Regions from separate parts of the Homo sapiens genome. Here all the other regions are linked to region 2. The links are contacts of gene promoters, found by promoter capture Hi-C in human tissues and cell types (Jung and others, 2019). All regions are on one chromosome and are shown on one strand. The core of a region is centred on a gene start or on the middle of the fragment in contact, and the rest is flanking DNA. Distances in the headings are between cores, read along the strand shown.

Region 1 (3,866 bases), core at 1,291-3,790, 190 kb before region 2:
GGGCGTGGTGGCTCACACCTGTAATCCCAGCACTTTGGGAGGCCGAGGCAGGCAGATCACCTGAGGTCAGGAGTTCCAGACCAGCCTGAACAATATGGTTAAACCCCATCTCTACTAAAAATTCAAAAATTAGCCAGGCGTGGTGGCGGGCACCTGTAATCCCAGCACTTTGGGAGGCCGAGGTGGGCAGATCAACTGAGGTCGGGGGTTCCAGACCAGCCTGACCAATATGGTGAAACCCCATCTCTACTAAAAACACAAAAATTAGCCAGGTGTGGTGGCGGGCACCTGTAATCCCAGCTACTCGGGAGGCTGAGGCAGGAGAATCGCTTGAACCCAGGAGATGGAGGTTGCAGTGAGCCGAGATCACGCCACTGCACTCCGGCCTGGACGACAGAGCGAGACTGTATCTCAAAAAAAGAAAAGAAAAGAAAAAGAAAAAGGCAGTTTCTAGGACACGTTTATGACAGTTTAAAAACCTGGCCCCTGCCCACTAAATGCTTATGGTGCCTTCAACCCCTGTGACCACCAAAAACACCCTTGAAATCCCAGTTGCCCCCCAGGAGGCAATTCCACCATCCCTAAGCTTGCCCTGACCCTGACAGTTACATGGTCCCTGTGTCCAGGAAGGGACTGGGCCTGCTGTGGGTATGAGGAGTCTGGGCAGTCTCTGCCTCCACCCCAGCTCTCTGGCCCGAGCAAAGGAGCTGGTATTCCTCATCTGGGCACCCCGGGCCCCCGCCCGCCTTCCTGTCCTGCCAGCAGGACCGCTCCCACCACGAGCCAGCCCAGAGGACGTGGCAGTCCCACAGCCTCTGCACTTGGCGCTCTGGCAGCCCTGCCTGGCCAGACCCACGCTGTCTGTAGCCCCTGAATTCCTGGCCTCCTGTGAGCAGCGTTGGTGGGAGGTGGAAGACTCCCCCAGGGATCCACCAACCAGCCGGGCAGGTCCACTTGGGGCCAGTTTCTACCTCGGAAAATCCTGGCTTCCTCAGCGCCGACCCCCAGCAGCCCTGGCCTCCTCCCCTGCTCACTGCTGACTGCTTGGCAGGCCTGAGTCAACAGACATTGCCAGGGAAACAGAGTGACGTCATGTGGTGGAGCCGCGAAGGGCGCAGGCTCCCCAGCCACTTCCCGTCCCTGAAGCCCTGAGCACACTGCTTAACCTCTGCTCTGCCTCAGCGTTCTCATCTGCAAAATGGGAATGACAATAGTGCCTACCTTTCCTGCTGCAATGCATAAAAAATGGGCTGCTAAGTGTGAAGCACTCAAAATGTTAAGTGCCTGCTGTAGATACTATTACCGTTGTTTGTTTGTTTGTTTGTTTGTTTTGACAGAGTCTTGCTCTGTCGCCCAGGCTGGAATGCAGTGGTACGATCTTGGCTCCCTGCAGCCTCCATCTCCCGGGTTCAAGTGATTCTCCTGCCTCAGCCTTCCAAGTAGCTGGGATTACAGGCGCCCGCCACCACGCCTGGCTAATTTTTGTATTTTTCGTAGAAACAGGGTTTCACCGTGTTGGCCAGGCTGGTCTCAAACTCCTGACCTCAGGTGATCCACTAGCCTCAGCCTCCCAAAGTGCTGGGATTACAGGTGTGAGCCACCGCACCCGGCTTACAAAAGAACTTTTAAGGCCAGGCACAGTGGTTCACACCTTCGGGAGGCTAAGGCAGGAGGATCGCATGAGCCCAGGAGTTGGAGGCTGCAGTGAACTATGATTGTACCACTGCACTCCAGCCGGGGTGACAGAGCAAAACCCCATCTCAAAATGAAACAAAATATGGACTGGACTTCCTGTCCACTGCTCCTCCACAGTGTCACATGGCCCCTGCCACCTGTCTGCTTGCCTTGTGTCCCTGGGGCAGGGAGACCCATCGTTCAGAAATGGAACACTCATTTTCCCTCCTCTCCCCGCAGGAGCAGCAGTGCCTGGGGTCCTTGGAGGGCTCGGGGCTCTCGGTGGAGTAGGCATCCCAGGCGGTGTGGTGGGTGAGTTGAAACCCCAGGAGGGGCAGGGTGGGGAGGGAATCTAACCAGTACAGAGTGCCTCCCTGAACTCGGTCTGTGTTCCCAGGAGCCGGACCCGCCGCCGCCGCTGCCGCAGCCAAAGCTGCTGCCAAAGCCGCCCAGTTTGGTGAGCACTGGGTGGAGGTGGGAGCTGCCGCCAGGCCCCCAGGCCCCCAGGGTGTGGGAGGAGCTTCTGACCAGGCACTGTAGACTCAGAGTCCCTGCCCCAGACACCTCCTGGCTCCACTGTGCCATCGAAGGCCAGGGGAGACCTCAGGCTCCACCTGTGTCCCCAGAGGACACCTCCGCCCTCCACAGGCCGAGGCTTCAGTCCCACCTTTCTGACCAGCGGAGTCTAATGCTCAGCTGTCTCCACAGGCCTAGTGGGAGCCGCTGGGCTCGGAGGACTCGGAGTCGGAGGGCTTGGAGTTCCAGGTGTTGGGGGCCTTGGAGGTGAGAGTTGTTCTGAAATCAGTGAGTGTGTGTGGTGTGTGTATGCGAGACAGAGATGGAGACAGAGACAGAGACAGAGACTTTCGTTCCCACCCCTGGCACGTCTTTGCTCAAGATGTCCTCTTGGCCAGGTGCGGTGGCTCACGCCTGCAATCCCAGCACTCTAGTAGGCCAAGGTGGGCGGATCACTAGAGGTGAGGAGTTTGAGACCAGCCTGGGTGACATGGCGAAACCTCATCTCTACCAAAAATACAAAAATAAGCCGGGCGTGGTGGTGGGCACCTGTATTTCCAGCTACTTGAGAGGCTGAGGCCAGAGGATCGCTTGAGCCCAGGAGGCAGAGGCTGCAGTGAGCTGAGATGGTACCACTGCATTCCAGCTTGGGCAGCAGAGTGAGACCCTGTCATCTAAAAAAAAAAAAGAAAGAAAGAAAAGAAAAGAGGCCAGGCATGGTGGCTCACGCCTGTGATCCCAGCACTTTGGGAGGCTGAGGTGGGCAGATCACGAGGTCAGATCAAGACCATCCTGGCTAACACAGTGAAACCCCGTCTCTACTAAAAATACAAAAAATTAGCTGGGCGTGGTGGCAGACGCCTGTAGTCCCAGCTACTCAGGAGGCTGAGGCAGAAGAATGGCGTGAACCTGGGAGGCGGAGCTTGCAGTGAGCCGAGATCGCGCCACTGCACTCCAGCCTGGGCGACAGAGCGAGACTCCGTCTCAAAAAAAAAATATATATATATATATATATATGTATGTATGTATGTATATAAATTAGCTGGGCATGGTGACACACGCCTGTAATCCCAGCTACTCGGGAGCCTGAGACAGGAGAATCACTTGAACCCAGGAGGCAGAAGTTGCAGTGAGCCAAGATCACGCCGCTGCACTCCAGCCTGAGCAACAGAGCAAGACCTCATCCCAAAACAAAATAAAAACAAGAAATGTGGCAAACGGGAGCTGGGGCTATCCCTTGCCGCCAGGGTCCCAGTCCTCCCCCTCTCCTCTCTCTTTCAACCCACCTGACCACTGCGGTGGGAGTAAATTAGGAGAATGATGGTTATGCCAGTTCTCCAAGAAAGAAATCAAAGCTTGGAGAGAAATTGCTTTCCCTAAGTCTCCACCATGGTGGCCGACCTTGTGTGGCCATTTCCCCCTTTCTTGGGCTGTCATTGTGTCTCCCCCTGTAAACTAGCCTGCACAGCTCTTCCTGTGAGTGCCACAAGACCAGACACACAGTAGGAGCTTAACAATTAAGACTTTTGGGGCCGGGCATGGTGGCTCATGCCTGTAATCCCAACACTTTGGGAGGCTTAGGTAGGTGGATTGCTTGAGGCCAGGAGTTCAAGACCAGCCTGGACAATGTAGCAAGACCCCCCCCCACCACCACCTCTACGAAATATTTAAAAATT
Region 2 (3,925 bases), core at 561-3,060:
AAAATTACATACATTCAGTACAACTATGCCAAATGGTTGCAAGTTTTAAATGTAATAAGATGACAGCCAGGCGCAGTGGCTCACACCTGTAATCCTAGCACTTTGTGAGGCTGAGGCGGGTGGATCAATTGAGGTCAGGAGTTTGAGCCCAGTCTGGCCAACATGGTGAAACCTCATCTCTACTTAAAATACAAAAATTAGCTGGATGTGGTGGTGTGCGTCTGTAATCCCAGCTACTTGGGAGGCTAAGGCACAGTAGCTCGAACCTGGGAGGCAGAAGTTGCAGTGAGCTGAGATCATGCATGCCACTATACTCCAGCCCGGGCTACAGAGTGAGACTCTGTTTCAAAAATAAATAATAAATAAATAAAATGTAATAAGATGCCCAAGTGCCATTTGAAAAGTTAAAGGCATGAGAATTGTACAGCATAGGCTTCAAACCTGCCACAGCAGAGAAACACCTGTTGCTGCTGGAGCACGGCCAGCACAGGTCATCTGGAGCAATGTGACACTGTGCTGCAACCCTGTCCGCCCGTCACAAGAGGCCCAGCACATACAGCACTGACATCATTTGGTGTGACAACATGGGTGCAACCAAGCTCCTTTCTCATCCCTTACCTGCCAGTTTCTTTTCTTTTTTTTTTTTTTGGAGACAGAGTTTTGCTCTTGTTGCCCAGGCTGGAGTGCAATGGTGCGATCTTGGGTCACTACCAACCTCAGGTGATCTGCCCACCTCAGCCTCCCAAAGTGCTGGGATTACTGGCGTGAGCCACCATGCCAGGCAAGGATTACCTGCCAGTTTCTGCAGACGTGTGCCAAATACACAGCATAGCTGGCTAGACACCGTAGGCCTAGGCTGGGTACAGTGGCTCATGCCTGTAATCCCAGCACTTTGGGAAGGCGAGGCGGACGGATCACTTGAGATCAGGACTTCGAGACCAGCCTGGCCAACATGGTGAAACCCAGCCTCTACTAAAAACACAAAATTAGCAGGGTGTGATGGTACATGCCTGTAATCCCAGCTACTAGGAAGGCTGAGGCAGAATTGATTGAACCAGGGAGATGCAGGTTGTAGTGAGCAGAAATCACACCACTGCACTCCAGCCTGTGTGACAAAGTGTGACTCCATCTAAAAAAAAAAAATTAACTGGGCATGGTGGTGCGTGCCTGTAGTCCCATCTACTTAGGAGGCTGAGGCAGGGGGATCACTTGAGCCAAGGAGCTGGACATCAGCCTGGGCAACACAGCAAAACCCCCGTCTTGATTTTTTTAAAAAAATTTCAAATGTAAATGTTATTGAACCTAACAGTCAAAATATTATTTTCAACATGTAATCGATATTTTTTTTAAAAGATTGAAGTTTTTGAAAACACTAGGTCATACACTACTATACACAAAAACTTTTGAAAAAACCAACTAGGTCAGAGTAGGTGGCCACCCGGGGTAGCCCTAATTGTCATAAGCATTGTAGTGAGCGAGACTCCGCTCGCAGAGTTTAGACCGGCCACTCTCGATCCATGTCCGTCGCCTTCTTGAAATCATCTCGATGCCACCCGGGGCCTCCTCCTCCCTCGGGATTCCCCAAAACGAGCCCCTGACCCCCGAGTTTCTCCGGAGCACGGCCCGCCACTCGCCCACCCTCACGTCCAAACGCGCCCATTCTTTACGGCCTGGGACCTCACCACGGCAGTTCGTAGTGGCCGGCGCTGCCGGGGGCCTTGCTGAAGGCAGGGGCAGGGTCAGAGTCCTGGGCCTCCACCTCGCCCGCGCCACCACAGACGGCCTCCACCTCCATTCTCGCGCCTCCTCTTCCCGCCACCCGAGGCACCGCCCCTTGACGCCGCCACGCAAGCCCCGCCCCCTGGCTTCCGCCGGGCGCGAGCGGAAGTTACGTACCCGCGCCTCTCTGTGCCTGCGAAGAGGGTTCCGGTGGTGCCCTGGCGGCCATCGCTGGAGGCCGCGGTTGCTATGGGAGACCTGGCGCCCGGCCTGGGAGCGACAGGAAGGCGAGCTGTGGCCGCGACGCCTTCCGAGAAAGCAGGTCGCTCTCGGAACGGACGTTTGTGTGTGGTTTCTGTGGAAGATCCGCTCCGCGGCGGCGTGGGAGGAGCAGGGCCTGGAGGGGTTGCGGCCAAACGCGGGCTTCGGTGTTGGGACACGGACAACGCTGGCGTCCGGGCGCTGCTGGGCAGCGGGGTCCGGGGATGACGTCTGGGGCTGCCCGTGCCCACTTTTCCAGATTGCTCTGAATGTCCTAGTGAGCTGCTCCCGTTGGGTAGGCTCCTGCGCCTCAACCGCGCTCGGTACTCGACGTTTATTATCAGGGAATTCTCGGCTGCAAGATGGGAATTCCACCCCCACCCCATTTTGCAGAGGAGGAAACTGAAACCGTCCTTTTGTCAGATGAAATGCAATGTTCATTCCAGGAAAATAGGGACTCAAGGCCGGTGCGGTGGCTCACCCCTCTAATCCCAGCACTTTGGGGGACAGAGACCGGAAGAGCGATTAAGCCCAGGAGTTCGAGACCAGCCTGGGCAACAAAGTGAGATCCCCGTCTCTACAAAAATAAAAATTAAAAAAGTAGCCGGGCGTGGTGGCGCGCACCTGCAGTTCCAGCTACTCAGGAAGCTGAGGCGGAGGAGTGCTTGAGCCCAGGAGGTGCAGGCTGCAGTGATCTCTGATCACACCACTGCACTCCAACCTGGTCTGCAGCAAGACCCTGTCTCAAAAAAGAAAAAGTAAATACTTCAACCTTGCAAGGGTTTTGAGCATTCTTATGGGCTGTTTTTCTACCCAATCTTTCCTCCCATAGCCCAAATTGTCATAATATTCAATAATGATGATCCCAGAACTTTGGGAGGCTAAGGTGGGAGGATCCCTCAAGCCGAGGAGTTTGAGACCAGCCTGGGCAACATGGTGAGACCCCATCTCTACAAAAAAAATTTTTTAAATTATCCAGTTGTGGTGGTACGCGACAGTAGTCCCAGTTACTCGGGAGGCTGAGGCAGGAGAATCGGTTGAGCCCATGAGGTTGAAGCCACAGTGAACCATGATCAAGTCAATGTACTCCAGCCCCGGGGGACAGAGTGAAATCCTGTTTCTAAAAAAATAAGAAGAAAAGAAAGTAGGTACTTCAGATTCACAAGTGCTTTGACCATTCTTTGTTTTGTTTCTTGTTTTTTGTTTTTGAGATGGAGTCTCACTCTGTCACCCAGACTGGAGTACAGTGGTGTGATCTCAGCTCACTGCAATGTCAGGCTCCCAGGTTCAAGTGATTCTCCTGCCTCAACCTCCCGAGTAGCTGGGACTACAAGCGTGTGCCACCACACCTGGCTAATACTTGTATTTTCAGTAGAGATGGGGTTTCGCCACGTTGACCAGGCTGGTCTCAAACTCCTGACTTCAAGTGATCCGCTTGCCTCAGCCTCCCAAAGTGCTGGGATTACAGGTGTGAGCCACCGCGTCTGGCCAAGCAGTTGGTTTTAACGATAGTATTAACGTATACAGATTCACAACTTAACACAGTGTTTTTCTTTCCATGTAATTTGGAAAAAATGTTTGAATTGGCCATCTCTCCCCTATTCCCCCTTTAAACTGATGGAGCGGTCTTGTCTGTTTTTTCAATCATTATTCACAGGTCTTTTATTTTTCCGGAGGAGAAAATACACACTCCTCTTGAAATATACACTTTTCTTGAAATGTCTCCGCGGTTTTTCCATAGGATTGTTCCTTTGTAATCTTCATGTTTTCCTTGTAATCACTATGACACACATCCCTCCCATCACATAACACAGTTTAGAAACTAATTTTTAATAAGTACAGAACACGGTTCCTTTCATAATTCTCCAAAAACCCCCACTCTACAGGAGGCCTTTTGGCGCTGCTAGGGCTCTCCTCTAACTGATGGAATGCCAGGAGAACCAGA
Region 3 (4,137 bases), core at 1,416-3,915, 240 kb after region 2:
TGACAGAAGAAAAAAAGAGAGAGAGAGAGAAGAAAAGAAACTCTAGTCCTGGGGGGGTAAAAAAGGAAAGAAGAAAAGAAACCTCTACTAAGAGTGCCTTAAGAAATATGGACTTTTGCCTGGGCGCGGTGGTTCATTCCTGTAATCCCAGCACTTTGGGAGGCCAAGGTGGCGGATCACCTGAGGTCAGGAGTTCAAGACCAGCCTGGCCAACATAACAAAACCCCGTCTCTACTAAAAATACAAAAATTAGCCGGGTGTGGTGGTGGGTTCCTGTAATCCCAGCTACTCAGGAGGCTGAGGCAGGAGAATCATTTGAACCCAGGAGGCAGAAGTTGCAGTGAGCCAAGATCGTGCCACTGCACTCCAGCCTGGGCAACAGGGTAAGACTCCATCTCAAAAAGAAAAAAAAAGACTTTTACTGTTTCACCCAAAGCTTAGAGATGGCAGATCTGGGGTCATACAGGACCAAGTTCTTCCACGAGTTCACCCTGCCATCCTCAGATACCCTCACCTCCCGGGCTGATTCTTTTCATGTCTCTAGTTGGCTGTCATGGTCGGGGGTGTCACATGCAGGAGAAGGAGGACATCCCTGGTTTCAGTCCCTTTTTTTATTTGAGACGGAGTCTTGCTCTGTTGCCCAGGCTGGAGTGCAATGGTGTGATCTCAGCTCACTGCAACCTCCGCCTCCTGGGTTCAAGCGATTCTCCTGCCTCAGCCTCCCAAGTAGCTGGGATTACAGGCATGTACCACCACACCTGGCTAATTTTTGTATTTTTAGTAGAGACGGGGTTTCGCCATGTTGGCCAGCCTGGTCTCAAACTCCTGACCTCAGGTGATCTGCCCACCTTGGCCTCCCAAAGTGCTGAGATGACAGGTGTGAGCCACCACTCCTGGCCTGGTTTCAGTTCCTTTCTAAGGGCAAGGACAGCTCTCCTAGAAGTCCCTCATGTCTCAGTGGCCAGAATTGGGTTCTGGCCTCTCCTTACACCTGTCCCAGCTAGGGGAAAAGGAGTGCCTTGCTCTGAGCCTTGGAGAATCACCAAAGTTCCTCCCAGGGACTGGGAGGGCCCAGCTGCCCCAAGCACTGGTTGTTGGGACAACCCAGCAAAGTTTGTCCCATCTTTAGATACCAGGACACAACGGGGGGATTCTGTTAGCAGGGAGTGGGGCAGAGGACTTGGAGGACAGCTTTTGGGGTCAGATCCAGGACTGGAACTCAGATTTTTTTTGTGTGTGTGTGTGACAGAGTCTAGCTCTGTCCCCTGGGTTGGACTGCAGTGCTGCAGTCATAGCTCATTGCAGCCTTGACCTCCCGTGTCAAGCTATCCTCCTGCCTCAGCACCCCGAGTAGCTGGGACAACAGGCACGCACCACCACACCTGGCTAACTTTTTTGTTTTTTTGTAGAGATGGGGTCTCACTGTGCTGCCCAGGCTGATCTTGAACTCCTGGGCTTGATCCTCCTGCCTTAGCCTCCCAAAGCACTGGGATTACAGGCGTGAGCCACTGCGCCCAGTGAGACCCCAGGTGTCTTAACCATGACCCCAGACTGCCTTCTACTGCACTGCGGCTGGGTGTAAGACCCCCTCCCGCTGCCCAGCCCAGAGCCTGGCCTGAGCAGATACGAATGGAAGGCCAGGGCTGTGACTGGCAGTGTTCTTCCCGGCTACAGTGACAGTGGTGGTGGGGGAGGGCAGGAATCCAGGACCCCCAGGCCACTCTACCCCCACTGGGGAGCCTCTGGGACTAGAGAGGGAGTATTCAGAGGGAGGCTGAGGCTGCTGGGGAGAAAGGATACCCCCCCCCCCGCCCGCCTTCCAGAAGGGGAGAAATTTCTTTTTTGTTTGTTCTCTCAAGCTTCTTTTTCAAGAAACAAGCATATGGCAGCGGATGGTGCGGGGGCCGTGTTTGGGTGGGGTGTGTGCCTGCCTTTGCCTTTTACGTGGTTGGGTGTATTTTTTTTTTTCTCCATCAGCTCCAACGCCCCAGCTGGTCCATAGGGCAGTGAGACTTGAATCACAGAGACGCTTCTCTGGTGTCCAGAAAAATCCGGCTCTTTCTAGTGGCGCTTCCAAGGGGGAAGAGATTGGAGAGCTCTCCAGCAAACCCAGGCCTGAGCTTTGCAGAGGTCTGAGCTGAGGACTGAGTGTCCAAGGGGCTGAGGATGTGGACTGTCTTTGTGAGGTGGGGTACAGCCAGTGAAGGAGCCAGTGTTAATTTCCTGAAGCTGCTGTAACACGGGCCACACAGACTTCGTGCCTTAAAGCAACAGAAATTTCAGGCCGAGTGCGGTGGCTCATGCCTGTAATCCCAGCACTTTGGAAGGCTAAAGTGGGCAGATCATGAGGTCAGGAGTTCAAGACCATTCTGGCCAACATGGTGAAACCCCATCTCTACTAAAAATACAAAAATTAGATGGGCGTGGTGGCAGGCACCTGTAATCCCAGCTACTCAGGAGGCTGAGGCACGAGAATCGCCTGAACCCTGGAGGTGGAGGTTGCAGTGAGCTGAGATCCCACTGCTGCACTCCAGCCTGGGTGACAGAGTGAGGGAGAAAAAAAAATTCTTTTTTTTTTTTTTTTTTTTTTTACTTTGAGGTTCTTGGGTACAAGTGTGCAGGTTTGTGACATAGGTAAACTTGTGTCATGGGGGTTTGTTGTACAGATTCTTTTTTCACCCAGGTATTAAGCCCAGTACCCAATAGTTATTTCTTATGATCTTCTCCCTCCTCCCACCCTCCACCTTCTGAAAGGCCCCAGTGTGTGTTGCCCCCCTCTCTGTGTCCATGTGTTCTCATTGTTCAGCTCCCACTTATAAGTGAGAACATGCAGTATTTGGTTTTCTGTTCTTGTGTTAGTTTGCTAAGGATAATGGCCTCCAGCTCCATCCATGTCCCTGCAAAGAACATGATCTTGTTCTTTTTTGTGGCTGCATAGTATTCCATGGTGTATACCTACCACATTTTCTTTACCCAGTCTATCATTGATGGGCATTTAGGTTGATTCCATGTTTTTGCTGTTGTGAATAGTGCTGCAGTAAACATACGTGTGCATGTGTCTTTATTGTAGAATGATTTCTATTCCTTTGGGTATATACCCAGTAAGGGATTGCCGGGTCCAATGGTATTTCTGTCTTTAGGTTTTTGAGGAATCACCACACTGTCTTCCACAATGGCTGAACTAATTTACAACAGTGTATAAGTGTTCCTTTTTCTCCACAACCTCACCAACATCTGTTATTTTCTTGTTCGTTTGTTTTTGTTTTTGTTTTTGTTTTGAGACGGAGTCTTACTCTGTTGTCCAGACTGGAATGCAGTGGTGCAATCTCAGCTCACTGCAACCTCTACTTCCTGGGTTCAAGCAATTCTCCTGCCTCAGCCTCCCGAGTAGCTGGGATTACAGGCACACACTACCATTCCCGGCTAATTTTTTTTTTTTTTTTTTGAGACAGAGTCTCACTCTGTCGCCCAGGCTGGAGTTCAGTGGCGTGATCTCGGCTCACCGCAAGCTCTGCCTCCCGGGTTCACGCCATTCTCCTCCCTCAGCCTCCCGAGTAGCTGGGACTACAGGTGCCTGCCACCACGCCTGGCTAATTTTTTGTATTTTTAGTGGAAACTGAGTTTCACCATGTTAGCCAGGATGGTCTTGATCTCCTGACCTCATGATCTGCCCACCTTGGCCTCCAAAAGTGCTGGGATTACTGGTGTGAGCCACCACGCCTGGCCCAGCATCTGTCATTTTTTGACTTTAATAATAGCCATTCTGACTGGTGTGAGATGATATCTCATTGTGGTTGTGATTTGCATTTCACTCATGATCAATGATGTTGATTGAGTCTTTTTTCATAAGATTGTTGGCTGCATGTACATCTCCTTTTGAAAAGTGTCTGTTCATGTCCTTTGCCCATGTTTTTATGAGAACAAGAGAAATTTCTATTCTCACAGTTCTGGAGGCCAAAGGTCCAAAATCATTACCACTGGGCCAAAATCAAGGTGCCGACAGTGCCATGCTCCCTCCAGAGGCTCTCGGGGGGAATCTGTTCCTGGCCTCTTCTAGCTCCTGGGGGCTGCCAGCACTCCTGGGCTTGTGGCCGCATCACTCCAGTCTTCAAGGCCAGCATCTTCCAATCTCTCTCT

Evidence for each region. Contacts are between HindIII fragments. The study calls those that stand out against the background at their distance.
Region 1: a contact is called between a fragment that was not itself captured here and the fragment with the promoter of RFC2 in region 2, in 4 of the 25 tissues and cell types used here (IMR-90 fibroblasts, dorsolateral prefrontal cortex, lymphoblastoid cells and 1 more).
Region 3: a contact is called between a fragment that was not itself captured here and the fragment with the promoter of RFC2 in region 2, in 2 of the 25 tissues and cell types used here (dorsolateral prefrontal cortex and thymus).

What each region holds. Positions count from the first base shown.
Region 1 is chr7:74,061,239-74,065,104 of GRCh38, forward strand. ELN (elastin) reads left to right here. Exons shown (of 33, transcript NM_000501.4): 27 at 1,915-1,986; 28 at 2,072-2,131; 29 at 2,383-2,457. It overlaps ELN-AS1 (ELN antisense RNA 1), which reads right to left and starts at 1,042. Exons shown (of 2, transcript NR_183555.1): 1 at 972-1,042. RefSeq lists enhancers at 376-876, 877-1,377, 921-1,215 and a silencer at 1,018-1,210. The HindIII fragment of the contact is 5,904 bases long and covers 1-3,866 here.
Region 2 is chr7:74,252,589-74,256,513 of GRCh38, forward strand. RFC2 (replication factor C subunit 2) reads right to left here and starts at 1,811. Exons shown (of 11, transcript NM_181471.3): 1 at 1,683-1,811. The coding sequence starts at 1,795. RefSeq lists enhancers at 843-1,445, 1,446-2,048, 1,485-1,714, 2,049-2,651, 2,125-2,204 and 2 more and a silencer at 1,765-1,884. The HindIII fragment of the contact is 19,783 bases long and covers 1-3,925 here.
Region 3 is chr7:74,488,744-74,492,880 of GRCh38, forward strand. The region is part of intron 1 of GTF2IRD1 (GTF2I repeat domain containing 1); the gene reads left to right. Among named protein-coding and RNA genes, the nearest start is that of GTF2IRD1, 37 kb to the left of the region's middle. The HindIII fragment of the contact is 6,256 bases long and covers 1-4,137 here.